Linked DNA regions of Homo sapiens: region 2 is linked to region 1. The links are contacts of gene promoters, found by promoter capture Hi-C in blood cells and fetal thymus (Javierre and others, 2016). All regions are on one chromosome and are shown on one strand. The core of a region is centred on a gene start or on the middle of the fragment in contact, and the rest is flanking DNA. Distances in the headings are between cores, read along the strand shown.

The links. Contacts are between HindIII fragments. The CHiCAGO score rates a contact against its expected background, and 5 or more counts as called.
Region 2: a fragment that was not itself captured here is called in contact with the fragment with the promoter of SHC4 in region 1 in 1 of 17 cell types (megakaryocytes); the score reaches 6.0 in megakaryocytes.

Annotation. Positions count from the first base shown.
Region 1 is chr15:48,961,779-48,966,642 of GRCh38, reverse strand. SHC4 (SHC adaptor protein 4) reads left to right here and starts at 2,724. Exons shown (of 12, transcript NM_203349.4): 1 at 2,724-4,212. The coding sequence starts at 3,628. RefSeq lists enhancers at 3,246-3,747, 3,748-4,250. The HindIII fragment of the contact is 13,438 bases long and covers 1-4,864 here.
Region 2 is chr15:48,860,223-48,865,361 of GRCh38, reverse strand. All of the region lies in intron 6 of SHC4 (SHC adaptor protein 4), which reads left to right. Among named protein-coding and RNA genes, the nearest start is that of EID1, 15 kb to the left of the region's middle. The HindIII fragment of the contact is 1,015 bases long and covers 2,802-3,816 here.

The DNA.
Region 1 (4,864 bases), core at 1,475-3,974:
TACATATACAAAACCTAAGTCTCAGAGAGGTTAAATAACTTACTCAAAATCCCACAGCTGGTTCTGGAATTCCCAGATTAATGTTCATCCAATTACATTTTGCTGCTGAGTGCATACTGCTTGTAGGTAGTGGCCCAGTTACAAAGGTTTCCTGAGATATCTAGTCTAGTATTATCTTCTGATAAATGATCTTTGGGCTAAATACACTTTCCCTGGGGGTTTTGGAGGGGTAGATACAGGAAAACCATAGATAGGAAAATATTCTGCCAGCCCTGATCTCATTGATCTGTGAGGGCCAGCTCAGGGGTAGGCTTCCCAACAACCCTAGAACCTCCAAAAATCCCCAGCTCATCTTCCTGTCCAGTCATTTCTCAGAGCTTTAGGAAGCAGTAAGATGCCCTGTAGCCATCATAGGCCTGGAAACTAGACTTGAGCTCTCTGGTCCCCTGGGAGGCAGCAGAGTACAGTGGCTGCCAGCAGAGGCTTTGCAATCAGGCCCAGAGGGATCCCAAGATCATTGCTCAACAGCTGGAGCACCTTGAACAAGTCACTGCCCTTTCTCTCAGCCTCATTTTCATATCTGTAAGGCAGTGAGGAACATAATCCAAGCATCCACAATTTGTTATAATAATTGAACCAGAATGTAGGTAAACTGTCAGGTGTTCCACAAATAGTAGCTCTTATTAATATTATTTTAATCATGACTAATTGAAGAGGATGTTCTAATGCCCTGGAAAAAGCAAACCATCTGCTTTACCCACCCATCTACCTAGAATGAAAAGCAATTCAATCAACGAGCCTTCTCTTGGGCTGTTAGGACTGAGAGAGTGGTCCAGCTGGGCAGGCTCAGCCTAGAGGCTATTCCCCACTTCCAGTTGCAGATCTGGTCTCTTTCACCCTCGTAAAACGCTGTAGCAGAGCTACCCAGGACAGCCAAGGTCTCTAGGCTTTGGGAAGAGAAGGAGCCCACAATGGCCATGACTGCTTTCTTACCTTACTTAGTCCCACTTCGCAACCCCCAACCCTCCCAGGACTCGCACTTTCTGAGGCATGTAGGCTGGTCTGGGCTCCTGGAGTCTGGCCAGCATGGTGCCTACCTAGATGAGCTGGCTCCCCTGGACACCCCATCCTGCAGTCATGAGACCTCTGTAAGGATTCCTATCAGCCAGGCAGGCCCATGTCCTTTCCAGCCTTCTCCAGGCCCACCTGATTTAAAAAATTGTTTTCTTTGGACAATGTTGAGTTTCTTAGCTTCTCCCACTTTGTACTAATTTTTCTTTTTAGTTGCCTAGAATGATGTAAACTCTGCAGTGTGAGGGTTAAGAATATGAGCTTCAAGGGGAGGTAGCTCTGGTTCCAATGGCCATTTTTTCATACTGCCCACATGTACTTAGTGAGATGGGCACTGTATGGAGCATTGGGCCTCGTAAGCCCTCATAACAACCCCATTAGATGGCTGCTGCCAACATATGAGGACATTCAGGCACGGAGAGGTAAAGTAACTTTCTAAAGGGAGCATATAATGAGGTCATCATAGCATAACAGAAGCAACACAGGGACCCAGGGACCCAGGGGAAGGCAGGAAAAATGAGAGGAAGAAAGCAGATGAGGAATGAGGAGGAATGAGAGGTAAATATTCTTGCCCAGAGCCTGTCTCCTCAGCCCCAGGGATGTGGGGTCCAACTGATTTAGCTACTTCCCTCAGTTTTGCCAGGAGGAGATGTAGGGCAGGGAAAAGGAGGTCAACAAGGATTGAAGGGAAGATTTATGAAGATGCAGAAAGGCCTTTCCAGGGAAAGAAATGTCTGAACAGGCTTGGCAGACAGGATGTGATGGGTGCTTTATTTCCCTGGGGGACCAGGGAGCTTGGGAGGAGGATGCCGCTTTCACTGGTCACTCTCAACCATTTAATTCAGAACCTGTGTTTGGATCCCAAGGGAGCTCAGGCTCCCAAAGTCATGAATATACATAAGCCTAATCCAGCATTAGGGACAATAAGATAATGAAGGTGGCACCCTTAATTCCTTTGGTTGCCAGTTTGTCTTAATTTTTTAATTAATGAACAATTTCAGATGTCAAAGCCTTGAGACACGGAGTAATGCAATCTTTTCTGAGAGTTCTTTATCTCTTCCTATGTGTGATTTCCACCCCACCCCGACACCCCACACCCCCAGTGTTTCAGCAGTTTCCTCTTCTCCATTCCTGAAGAACCTGCATTTCCTTTTCCCAGCTCTGGTTTTGGCTTCCTGTGTGCTAAGCCTTTGCAGTTGTCATCATGTCTTCAGGATGCATTTGATAGGTACAGGAAGTCGCACCAGACGGAAGATGGAACCAACAATCAATAAAAAAAGAACTATGTTTCTAAGAAAAATGCATCATGGCTTCCCACAGGAGTTGTGAACCATATGTCCTAATATCCCTGTAACAATGGGTCTAATTTTTAGCTCTTCTGCTCTGCCCTCCCGGCCATCTCAACAAGAAAGAAAATAGATCTTTTAACCTGCTGCTCCCCGGCTAATGATCTGTAGTAAAGATTGCCTTTCCTTTTAACTCATTCATCAGATACCACAAAATAAAATACGTCCCTCCTCTCCCGCTAGCTTTATTTCTCTCGGCTACTAGTTTAGTATATTTATGGTGTATGAGTCATCAAGCTGCCTCCTGATTGGATAAAAACCAAGCACCTCTGAGACCGTCAGTCAATTACAGCTATTCTCAGCTTCATTCACAGATTTATTAGCTTGCACACACACAGAGAAATTCATTCGGCAAAGTTCATTCATAAAAATTTCAACACGCTGCGTATCATCCTGCACATCTCAGCTTTCGGCTGCAAATGGGCTTCTGAAAAAAGCTCCGAGAGGAATCCAGGAGGGAGGGAAGCTCTGAGCGAGGGTAGGCAGGCTGGGAGGGGATCTGAGGAACACGGACCCATCACAAGTCAGTGAAACAATGCGGAGCAGCGCCCGTCAGTAGTACTCCTGGCTGGTGGCCCAGAACGGGATGCAAGACAAGATCTTCCAAGAGAGGGCAGCCTTTGGAATCAACGAACCCAGGCAAAAGGGCCTTTGGTTCATAGATACATTTTTTTTTCCTTTTTAAATGAACAATCACTGGAACAAATAAAGGGTTAATAGGCCAGTCATTTGCCCCGCCCTGTGAGAGCCGAAGGGAGCAGGTTCGAAAGTTCCTGTGTGCAGAACAGAAGGCTGGGGTGAGGGTGGGAGTCGGGTGCTAAATATTTCTACTAGGCTCCTGCAAGGCTAGTGATGCAGCGGGCCCCCCGACCGGCGCTCGCCCGGGTTCTGCGCCTAAGAGTTGGCCGTGAGCGACCCGCGCCGCCGGGAGCCTGGGTCTAGGCTCTCCCGACAAGGATTCCAAGGCGAGAACACTGGTGCCTCTGCCTGGGCCAGGGAGAGACTGAAATCAGAGCAGGGGAGGCGTTTCCCCCATGGGCTGTCACCCTTAAGGGGCCGGGAGCCGAGGTGGGCGAGCTCGAGAGCAGAGTTGGAGAGGTGGCTGCTGTGAGTTGCATCGGGCGTTGAGGTATCTGATGTCTGCACCGTTTATCTACCAGACGACGAGGCGATTTATGCAACAGTATCCTGTTTCAGCACTGCCAAGGCTATGCGAGAACGCGGCCAGGACAGCCTGGCAGGACTCGTGCTGTATGTAGGACTCTTCGGGCACCCCGGGATGCTGCACAGGGCCAAGTACAGCCGCTTTCGGAACGAGTCGATCACGTCCTTGGACGAAGGTAGCTCCGGAGGCTCGGTCGGGAACAAGGGCTCGCCGCAGCCTCCCCACCCCGCCCTGGCACCTCACCTGCCGACTGAAGATGCCACCTTGCCGTCGCAGGAGAGCCCCACCCCACTGTGCACCTTGATCCCCCGCATGGCAAGCATGAAGCTGGCCAACCCGGCCACTTTGCTGAGTCTGAAAAACTTTTGCCTGGGTACCAAAGAGGTGCCTCGGCTGAAGCTCCAGGAAAGCCGGGACCCAGGTTCCAGCGGCCCCTCTTCCCCAGAAACCAGTTTAAGTAGGTCCGGGACTGCACCTCCACCGCAGCAGGACCTGGTGGGACACAGGGCAACCGCCCTAACCCCTGATTCGTGCCCGCTTCCTGGCCCTGGGGAGCCAACACTTAGGAGCAGGCAGGACAGGCACTTTCTACAGCACCTGTTGGGGATGGGCATGAACTACTGTGTGAGGGTAAGTCCATTTTCCTCTCTGCCCTCTAAGAACTTCCGTGGAAGGGGGCATCTTCTCTGCTTTCTGCAAGGGGTCTAATGTTACCTGCCTGGGTTCTGTGTTTGGACAGGACATGATTCAACTGGACCAAGGCGGAGGGGAGCTGGGTTTATATATGTCCCTACAACTATCTGACTTGTACTGGAGTCAGGCAGCCTTTGGTTCAAGGACATGAACCGGTGCTAACTTGTAGGACATGAACTTGTGGGTACTTGGCAGGTGTAGAGGCAAGTTCTGATAGAGGCAGCTGATGGCACCACTTTGTCCCCGCTGGACCTAGTATTCTGGCCAAAAAGAGTCAAGGACTTCAAATCTGATCAGTGATTGAGACCTGGTAGGTTATACTGGCCATTGTATTTTGGATGAATACAGTAAAGATTTCTGTGCTGTAGAAACACATGGTGTGTAAGGGGCTTGAATTATTCTTTAAAAATTTATTTCAGCATTTAACAAACACTTCTCAAAACACGTCCGAGTCTCTAACCTTGTGCCAGGAGCTAGTCTTAGCTCTCCGGTGCACATTTATTGCCTTTACTGCCTACGCTGCAGCAAGTAGGCCTTGTCCATGAGCTATGGGCAAAATCAAGGTCCTTACTGGCCTTGTATCTGTCCT
Region 2 (5,139 bases), core at 2,060-4,559, 100 kb after region 1:
TTCTTTCTCATATAGCTTGGCTATAAAAATCCTGTGAGAAGACACTGTGTTCTCAACATACCTCCTCCTTGCACACAGTCCTCTAGTGCTAAATCTTTTCCCCCGACCTGAGCCCTTGGACTGACAGTGCCCGCAAAGAGGTGATGACACAGCTTTTGAATACACAAATAATTATTAATGATTATGGAAGGAAAATCCCACCATGGTATTATCATTTAGCAAGAGGGAGAAACATAATCCATAAGATGTGCATAGAGAAAGAGGGATGCCTAGAGAACAGTGCCTAAAACGCAGTAGATGCTTGGGATTTGTGGAGTAAGTAAAAAAAGACACAGGTGAAAGAGCAGTGTAATGAGAGCTTACAGCCAAGTGTTTGCAGGTTGTGCGAATGTGCGTGTAAAGGCGGGGTTGCAGAGAAAGGAAAAAGTGGAAGTAGGGGTCCCACAGCTGAAAAGATAGACCAGAGACAGATTGTGGGGGGACTTTGAATACTGGCCAGGAGGTCACTGGAGCCATCAAATATTTTGAGCTTTAAAAATATTATTATGTTTTGCTATTCTGAAATTACTAAATGATCATTTTTCTGGCAGTTGTGTCTTTAAAAGTGGTATTGGAGGCCGGGCGCGGTGGCTCACGCCTGTAATCCCAGCACTGTGGGAGGCCGAGGCGGGCAGATCATGAGGTCAGGAGATGGAGACCATCCTGGCTAACACGGTGAAACCCCGTCTCTACTAAAAATACAAAAAATTAGCTGGGTGTGGTGGTGGGCACCTGTAGTCCCAGCTACTCGGGAGGCTGAGGCAGGAGAATGGTGTGAACCCGGGAGGCGGAGCTTGCAGTGAGCCAAGATCACGCCACTGCACTCCAGCCTGGGCGACAGAGCAAGACTCTGTCTCAAAAAAAAAAAAAAAAAAAAAAAAAAAAAGAAAGTGGTATTGGTATTGGAAAGCAGAAAAGCCACCTGGAATGATAGAATTCAATTTAGAGGACATCTCATTAGTCGTGGGCAGCAGTGTAATGTTCTAAATGGCACTGGAGGAGGAAGGAAGAGTTTGGGTCAAATTTGTGAACTAATAGTACTTGATGACTATTTAGATATTTAGATTGATGGAGAAATAGGAATCAGATGTTCCTGAGGATTTAATGAGATATCATATGCAATGCAAACATTTCAATACCTGGCTTATAGCACCTAGGCAGTAAATGGTAGCTATTATTACTATTCTGTGTGATGTGGAGTGATGTTGCCACTAAAGAAACAGAAATTCTCATAAATAGAATAAACAAACAATCTAATAAAAAAAATAGGCAAAGAAAAATGGCTACCATTTATTGCATGCTTACTATGTGCCAGGCATTTTCAGTACTCCATCTGCATTATCTCATTTCATCCTCACAGCAGCCCTAGGGAGTATGTAAACATATCATTCCTTTTTTTAAATAGAAGAAAACACTGGAGGTGAGAAAAATAAGGCGGTTTTCGTAAGATTACCCAGCCATTAAGTGGATGGACAGATTCTACGTCCTGAGCACACAAAAGAACATGGCAAGGCACCAAGAAACATTTGAAAAATAAAAAAGTTTAGCCTCACTAGCAATCAGACACACAAATTATAATTAGACATCATATTTCATCTCCAAATTTCAAACATTGAAAAAAGATAAAATGTGGTTTCGAGTAGTAGTTATTCTTGAACACTGCTGATAAAGAGTTTAGATTCAAACATTTTAAAGAGCAATTTGATCATTTGCATCAAACATCTTAAAAATGTAAATGCCTTTGAACCAGTAGTTTTATTTCTGAGGAAATAATTAGGATACGTACAAAGATTAAGCAATATAGATCATTTTTGTATATTATTTATATCATAAGACAAAATTTAGTATTCATAAGTAGCAAATTAAATAAACTCATAGAATGTACTATGATGCAGCAATTAAAGCTAATAGTAGAAAAATAAGTAATTATATGGGAAAAATATTCACAATGCTGTTAATGCAAAAAACATTATGAAGATTGTGTATAGTATAATCCCAGGTGACTTTTCTGGGTAGATACGCATTATAAGAAGATAGGAAAGACATATGGCAAAATGTTCCTAGTGGTTATTGAGATAACCACTGGATAGTGAAATTTTCTGTAATTTTTATTTCTTCTTGGTGCCTTTTTGTTTTCTAAAACTCTTACAGTGAATATTTATTACATTTATAAAAAGAAAAAATATCCAAAACCTTTGAATAAATGTTTTAAAATAATGAAATCAGAAAGCTGATGTTATAAAATTAACTAGCAAGTTTGTTTCATCCAGGAGAAAATGGCAGACAAGAGAAGCCCAGAGAGTAGGTCTGGGGCTGGGGGTGGGGCTGGCAGGGAGGGGAGGGAGGCAGGCCAGGCCTGCAGGTGCAGAAAAAAACTGCAACTTCTTAGCAGAACCTAGAAAGAAGAGGGCTAAGGATGTCAGGGAGTGGGGGAAGCCACAGGAGACAGTGACTTGCCTAAGGAGTAGTCAGGGGACAGGAGGAAGTCAAGAAATGAGTATTACCTAACAGAGGGGAAGAGCAAGGTTCTTCTGAAGGAGACATCTCAGATGGTCACACACTGAAAAGGAGTTAAGGGGCATGAGGGTGGGAAGATGCTATTTCGCCCAGCAATTAACAGGCCACTGGTCACTCTGGAAAGCTCAATTTTTGTACACCTAGAAAGGCAGGAGCCAGATTGCAGGGATGAGGAGGACAGTATGGTTGACAGGAAGTGGAGATGAGCAGAGGAGACTGGGCTTCATGCTGACAATCCCGAAGCTTCCCACTCTTCCTTTTGCTTGATTCGCTTTTAGCATTAGTGCATTTAAATCAGGGCAGTTCCCACTTTTTCCATCTTGGCTAGGACCCTTTAGTGAACTCTTCATTTTATCAAAGGCCTTTTTTATAGAAAAGGTTAAGTTCCAGTAAGAATGTTTTGAGTTTAGTTAGTGATTAATACACCCTGCTTCTGTAATTGCTGTAAATGAGGAAATCCACATTGTCTTACTCCAAATGTGTGGCAGTCCAGGAATGTTTTAATATTTTCCCTGAATCTAGTCTGTGAATAGGACTGGACTGCTTGGACTACCTGGATATAGGAAGGCCATGCTTCTGGGTCTCTGAAGAAAGTTAAAAAAAAAAAAACCCCAAAACCAGTAAAACCAACTTAAATTAATCCACTTATTTTTATTTATGTTTATAGTTATAAAGTATGCCTACGACTGTCCTGGTGGTATTAATTAGCTATGAACTGAATACTGGCTTGCCTCTTTGAGGTTGTTTCTTCCTAAAGTATGGAGGACTCCCTGCTTTGATCCCATAGCACCATCTGGTGGTTGACCTGAAAAGCTGAACTTTTGAATTTCTGGTTTTCTAAGTATAAAAGGAAAAGACAGAAACAAAACAAAAAAACTGTTTATTAAGAACAAATATAAAAGTAGTAAAGAAGTGTCTGTTATCCTTTAGTAATAGTTGTAATCCTCTTGTTTATGACTACCTAATTCAATAACCAAATAAAAAAGACAGATGAATATGTATCTCAGGTTCTTTTGAATCTTAGTTTAGTACTTGATACCCAGGGCTGGAAGTGTGAGCCCATCCTGCTACAGGTGGGATGAAAAAAATCCAGACTTTCATCTGATTCCAGACATGGGAAGCAAAGCTCAGGCCTTGGTAACAAAGTTACCATATCCCTGAAAAGGCACCCTCTTTTTTGTGACTTGGCTCTTTTTATATATAGTTACTTGTCTTTCTTCTTTCCCTTTAGCTGAAAATTGGGCAATTCTTGGCCAAGCTTTTGGAATTGGTTTTAATCCTGGGAAATGGGCATATTTATATGTGATTCAAGGCCCACCTCTATCCTGTCCCATGACCAACCTAAAAAAGACCATTTCCATAGAGCAACATAGCATGTCTATGAGAGGCAACAATGGAACTGTGAAAGTACATGTGCTCCCTGAAGGTGGTGAGACTGGGCAGAACATCTGCATGAGGTCAGTCTGTTTGTCTGCTGTTGCATCTTGCCTGGAGACAGACAGACACCACTGTTTGTTCTTTTATTTTTGTCCAGTCTTCTCAAGCTGGGTGTGTTGGGGCATGCCTGTAGTCCCAGCTACTTGGGAGGCTGAAGCAGGAGGATCACTTGAGCCCAGGAGTTCAAGTCCAGTCTGAGCAACGTAGTGAGACACCTGTCTCTATAATAAATAAAGTAATATGGTAGTAATAGGCTAATCCAAAGAAAAGCAGAAAATTATGTTGATAGCATCAGCCTATGAACAGGACCCAAACCTCAAAGCATCAGAATCAGAAAAGTTGAGATAAATAAGACATTCTAGAGGTACGCCAGAAGCGTTAGAGGCTGGTTGATGTGTCTGATTGATTCATTCATTTCTGTGTACCCACATGCCGCCCTGTTCCTCAGAGACTTTGAGCTTCCATGACAGAGGAAGAATAGGGTTTCTGTAAAACAAAAAGACTTCAAAGATGACTCAGGACATTGTCTTGGCAGACAAGGACCTTGCCATAAAGTGACTTGTTCAAGGTCACATAAGTAGTGGCATAATTGGAACTTGAACTCAGATCTGAATCTTTTCACGGAGTTCTTTTAAACATCCTATTCTCTCATCGCCCTCACTGGAAGTACAATTTAGCTTTTCTTATTTATTTATTTAGGCTTAAGTATCCTGCTTCTCTCATTATCTTCCTCATCTTCATCTCTCAACATCTCCTCAATCCTAAGAAAAAATAAAATTGCAAAAATTGTTGTTTCCATTTTGATATGACTTTCTATTTTGACTTCATTTTTATTTTTATTTATTATTATTATTTTTATTTTTGAGATGGAGTTTCACTCGTCGCCCAGACTGGAGTGCAATGACGCCATCTTGGCCCACTGCAACCTCTGCCTCCCAGGTTCAAGTGATTTTCCTGTCTCAGCCTCCCAAGTAACTGGGATTACAGGCACCTGCCACCATGCCCAGCCAATTTTTTTGTATTTTTAATAGATACGGGGTTTCACCATGTTGGCCATGAACTCCTGACCTCAAGTGATCCACCTGCCTCAGCCTCCCAAAGTACTGGGATTACAGGCGTGAGCCACTGCACCTGGCCTTGACTTCA